Regions from separate parts of the Homo sapiens genome. Here region 2 is linked to region 1. Evidence: promoter capture Hi-C in 16 types of primary human blood cells and fetal thymus (Javierre and others, 2016). All regions are on one chromosome and are shown on one strand. The core of a region is centred on a gene start or on the middle of the fragment in contact, and the rest is flanking DNA. Distances in the headings are between cores, read along the strand shown. Region 1 has its middle 10 kb from the start of CEACAM21. Region 2 holds the start of TMEM91 (transmembrane protein 91).

Region 1 (2,700 bases), core at 178-2,677:
CTCCTGCTCCTCGGGAGGCTTCTGTCCTGAGCTCGCCTTAGCTAATCCTGCGTTACCGTTCGGCAGGTGTGCGCCTCAATCTCCCCACCTTACCGCCAGGGAACTTAGCCTGACGACACTCCGCCCCATCGGGTCAGGGAAAAACGGTAGGAGTAGTGGAATTTCACATTTCGCCCTCTGCCTGCATGGCCAGTCAACTCCGCCCCTCGCGGAAACAGGGGGTGGGCGCGGGACCAACTACTGATCCCCTCCCCTGTCTCTTCACAGCGCTGCAGTCAGGCTCAGCCGATGCTTCTTTCCTGCAGGTTCCGCCGAGCCCGTCCCTTGGCGGTGGTGTCACTGGATGCTGGGAAGAGATGGTGGGAAGAGCCTCCATCCATTGGCGCGTCACTAATTAGACAAGGAGGCCTTGGGCTCCCTTGAGAGAGTCACGGTTTCTCCTCCGTTGACCCGCCCTTCATTGAACTCCTTTACTTGGATATTCAGAGCGCTGGACAGAGATCACTTGGCGCTAACACCCTCGGAGGTCCTCACGGCGCTCCGTCGGAATGACACAGTCGGATTCCCAAGCTGCGAAGGGTGAGGGAGGGACTGCAGCGCAGGAACTGAGGAGGAGAGGCCCGCGCGCCCACTGGAGCCGAGCGGTGAGGAATAACCGGACCGACCCCCGACGGTGCGTGGTGAGTCTCCCCAACCTGCACCATTCGCGCCCCGAGGCGCCCCAAGCGCGGCTGGGAGGCCAGCTGTGGCTGGGACGATTCACTAGAAGGGCCGGCCTGCGTCGAGTTTCCAGGGTGGCCGCCAGTGACCCCGGCGGGGCCCATCCCCCTTGCCCTCAGAGCCCGCCCCGCCCCGCTCCCCTGTGGCACCGCCACCGCTACTCCAGGAGGCACAGTGGGGAGGAGAAGGGGGTGGGGAGCCTAAGGAGAGGAGTGAAGGTGTCCTGGCCTGCCTTGGGGAAGGGGCGGGGGCGGGTGCCTCTGGGACACCCAGCCCGGGGGATCAGCCCTGAGAGCCAGTCCTTACCCTGAAGTTACAGATCTGGCTTCCAGATTTCTGTAACCTACCTTGTTCCAACACAGGCCTGAGGCTGTTCCTGTTAGAGACCTGTTGCGGATACGGGTAGGGCCCTGCGGGAGATTTACATCTCCAGTCTTCCCCCCCGCCCCCCGCCCCCCTTGTTTTTCACAGACAGGCTAGAGCAGCGGCGCTATCATAGCTCACTGCAGCCTCGAACTGGTGAACTGGAGGGATCTTCCCAACCATCTTTTGTCTTTTTTAAGAAGAAAAATACAAAAGCTTTTATATAGGCTTACACACAGCTACAGAGCAAATCTTTATCGTATATCCAAGATTATCAACCACTTGACTGTACAACCAGGAATCATAACACATTTGAGAACAACCAGTGGCAAAATAGGAAAATGGGCCAATGAAGAAGATAGGTGACTAATAAATAAAAATCTGATATCAAGTGTAGGCAAGTTGTAGGGAAAATGGGTGATGAACGAATAGAACAAATGCCTGGGGTAAACATCATTCGAAAGCCCAGAAAGAAGCTTTTAGACATCTTTATTGCTTTTTGGGGGGGCGGGGGGGGTGGGGTTCTGGAGGATTGATGGCTGAACTCTCATGAAAAGGGTGCAGTCAGAGAACAAGAAAGAGTTCCCAGGAATTAAAATTGTAAACAGAAAAGCAAATTCAGGGTAATTGCTGAAAGACCCACCAAAGGATCTCCAAGATACAATTGAGAAAATCAACCCTAACATAAAGGCAAAAGACAAAGGTGGGTTATTTGAGCGAGAAGTGGTTTGAGGATTTGCAAATATTTGTTTAGTATTGAATATGTGCCAAGCACACATTACAGAATACGTTACTTATGGGAAGTAACTTAGCCTTGAAGTAGCTCTGTGAGGATGCATGTGTTTCCTTTACCTATAATTCTATAGGAAAGGCAATTTTTAAAAATAAATCAAGGTTGGATTTCATCAATTTTACAGAATACGCATAACTTTATAAAATTTTCAAAATTCTCTAAAAACCTATTGAGATAATTAAACAAGCGTTTTTCTCCTTTAGTCTGTTAATGTGGAGAAGTATTTTCTGATGTTGAAACATACTTGCATTCCTGATATAAGCCATACGTATGATAACATATTTTGCTTGTTTGCTATTATTAATTCTGAATTTGGTTCACTAAGATTTTGTTTGATTTTGCATGTATATTTGTAAGTGAGATTGGTCTATAATTTTCTTGTGTGGTTTTGGTATCATGCTATAACAGCTTCTGAAAATGTGTTAGAAAGTGTTTTCTTGTTAAAGTTTTAAACCTTCTGAGAATTGGTTGAGGAGGAGCTTGAAAATTTGTTAAAATTCACCATAAAAATATCAGGACCTGAAATTTTGTTATTGTTGTCAGTAAATAAAAATTATCAACTGTCTTTTTAATTGCTTTACTGATTATTGCTCTATTCATAATATCCATTTTTTCATGAGTCAGTTTTGGTAATTTACATTTATCGAGATAGTTGTCCGTTTCATCTAAGTTTTAAAATATATTGGTACAGCTATTGTGGTATTCTCTGAATAATTTTAAAATCTCTCTTGTGTCTTCCTGATTTGTCCTATTTAAATTTTTTTGATTAATCAATTTATATTTTCATATTGTTTTCTCTCTCTCTCTCTCTCATAATGTTATGG
Region 2 (2,700 bases), core at 153-2,652, 190 kb before region 1:
CCCACCTGCCTCTGCTTCCTCCTCACCCATTGGCTTAGCAAGGGCCACAGGAACACAGCCCGGGGTTACAATATGCTGGGCTTGGTACCAGCTGTTTACTGTGGCCAAGTGAGCATGCAAGTGAGCCCGTTTATTTTCTTTTCTTTTTTTTTTTTTTTTTTTTTTTTTGAGACGGAGTCTTGCTGTTTCCCAGGCTGGAGTGCAGTGGCGCGATCTCGGCTCACTGCAAGCTCCGCCTCCCGGGTCCACGCCATTCTCCTGCCTCAGCCTCCCAAGTAGCTGGGACTACAAGCGCCCGCCACCAAGCCCGGCTAATTTTTTGTATTTTTAGTAGAGACAGGGTTTCACCGTGTCAGCCAGGATGGTCTGGATCTCCTGACCTCGTGATCCGCCCGCCTCGGCCTCCCAAAGTGTTGGGATTACAGGCGTGAGCCACTGCGCCCGGCCCGTGAGCCCGTTTCTTTATCTGCAAAACAGGGATTAAAAACAAGCCAACACCCCTTCAGCACTCCTCCGCAAAAAAACACCCCAAAACAAAATAGGCCAGGCGCGGTGACTCACACCTGTAATCCCACCGCTTTGGGAGGCCGAGGCTGCAGTGAACCCAGGAGTCTGAGGCTGAAGCGAGCAATGATTGCGCCACTGCCTTCCAGCCTGGGCGATCAGAGCAAGACCCCGTCTTTTAAAAAATAATAATAAAAAAAAAATCTGCCGGGCGCGGTGGCTCACGCCTGTAATCCTAACACTTTGGGAGGCTGAGGCGGGCAGATCACCTGAGGTCAGGAGTTCAAGACCAACCTGACCAACACAGCGAAATCTCATCTACTAAAAATACAAAAATTAGCTGGGCGTGGTGGCTTGCCCCTGTAATCCCAGCTACTCGGGAGGCTGAGGCAGGAGAATCGCTTGAACCCGGGAAGCGGAGGTTGCGGTGAGCCGAGATCACTCCACTGCACTCTAGCCTGGGCGACAGAGCAAGACTCCGTCTCAAAAACAAAACAAAACAAACAAAAAAACCAAAGTAAAATAGCAGCGACAACAACAACAACAACAAGAAAAACCCGGAGCTGAGAGGAAGAATGAATGCGATGATGAATGTAAAGCGTTTAACACAGGGCTTGGGTACAGTCTGCCCTCAATGAACCAATGATGTACCCCTAGGCAATTTACCTAACCTCGGCTTGCCAGTTTCCTCCCGCGTGAAACAGGACAATAAACGATTATGCCTCTTAGGGTTGTGCTGAGGAATACATGTGTATGTAAGTTTATTTGCAAAGCACTTAGAACAGGGCGCACGGTCCTTGTTGCTGTTATTATTATTGGCTATTATTGCGCAAAGGGGAAGGGAGGCGGGGCCAAGCCAGGAAGGCCCTGGAGAATCCGGGGTGCCCCCTCCTCCGGCAGAGCTTGGGCCTGGGCTCACGAGGAAGGGGCTGCAGTTCTCCAAGGATTCCCGCCTGCTCCCAGACCCCCGGGAGTCGTAGGAACCCGTTCCTGGACGCTGACGTCGGCTTTCAGGGATCCCTCGCCGGACGCCGCGGAGGGACAGAGCCTGGGAAGCCGTCGCCCCGCCCCGTCCCCGCCCCCGCGCGCAGCGGGCCCGGGGCGCTGAGACCCGCGTAGAGCAAAGCGCAAGGTCCCAGCGCCCCTTGGATCCTCGGTGGCAGGGTCCGGGCAAGTGTCATTGCGAGGGTTCAGGAAGCCCCGGCCTGTGATCGTGAGCGGTGAGTGAGGGACGTAGGTGGGTGGGGGTCACAGTCCCTTCCCTGGGTCCTGGAGTTGGGGATGAGAGGGCAAAGCTTTGGCGAGGAAATCGGCTCAGTCAAGGTTTGGAATGAGCAGGCAGGAGGCTTGGGGACCTTCCAGGGGGATCGTAGGACGAGAAGAAGAATATTCTTTCTGGTTGTGTTGCGTGTGTACGTGTATGTGTGTGCTGGGGTTGAGGGTGTTTATGGGGGCGAGGTGTGCAAAGGATTCTGGAGAGCTGGTGCATGTGTGGGAGTTGTGTGGAGTCATAGGTGTGTGGGTGGAGTAGGGCAGGGGTGCCTGGGCCTGATGAGTGGGGCAGGCATGCCAGAGGTCATGAGAATAGGAGAGAGTGCCGGGGTGCATGTGTGCGTGTGTGCACAGGTGTCTGTGGTTTGTGATGCAGTGGGGAGTAGGGTTGTGCACGGAGTCAATTGGGATAAATGTGTAAGAAGGTTGGGGACCTGAAAGGGGTGTTTTCTGGGAGCTGATGTTTTGGGGCAAATATTCAAGGAGTCCTTTGGGAGATGAATGTGTGGAGGTGGAGGCTGGGCTTGCCTAGATGGGGCTGTGTGGCAGGGGACTTCGGGGGGCAGGTCTAGGGGACAGAGGATGGGGAATGTAGACTAGAGTGCAGTTCCAGGCAGCACTGGGGGTAGGGGATGGGTGTGTGTGTGACTGGGAGGGGTGCCTGGGCCTGGATAGGTGGTCACGCGGTATGAACCTGGGATGGATATTGGGGGTGTTTGTGGGGCAGGTAAGTGTGTAAGGCATGGTGCAACAGGTGCTGCAACTTATTGGGGTAAGTGTGATGGGTATGTGGCTTTTGCCTGAGAGAAATGCCCAGAATTTGGCTGGGTGCGGTGGCTCACGCCTGTAATCCCAGCACTTTGGGAGGCCAAGGCTGGTGGATCCCCTAAGGTCAGGAGTTCGGGACCAGCCTGGTTAACACAG

What was found. The method cuts DNA at HindIII sites, captures the fragments that hold promoters and counts their contacts. A CHiCAGO score of 5 or more calls a contact.
Region 2: a contact is called between the fragment with the promoter of TMEM91 here and a fragment that was not itself captured in region 1, in 4 of 17 cell types (naive B cells, total B cells, fetal thymus and 1 more). The highest score is 8.2, in naive B cells.

Annotation. Positions count from the first base shown.
Region 1 is chr19:41,564,377-41,567,076 of GRCh38, forward strand. It overlaps a transcript of CEACAM21 not described here and the pseudogene LOC110467527. Among named protein-coding and RNA genes, the nearest start is that of CEACAM21, 10 kb to the right of the region's middle. The HindIII fragment of the contact is 260 bases long and covers 1,298-1,557 here.
Region 2 is chr19:41,375,131-41,377,830 of GRCh38, forward strand. TMEM91 (transmembrane protein 91) reads left to right here and starts at 1,403. Exons shown (of 4, transcript NM_001098821.2): 1 at 1,403-1,724. RefSeq lists a silencer at 1,519-1,648. The HindIII fragment of the contact is 2,591 bases long and covers 1-1,797 here.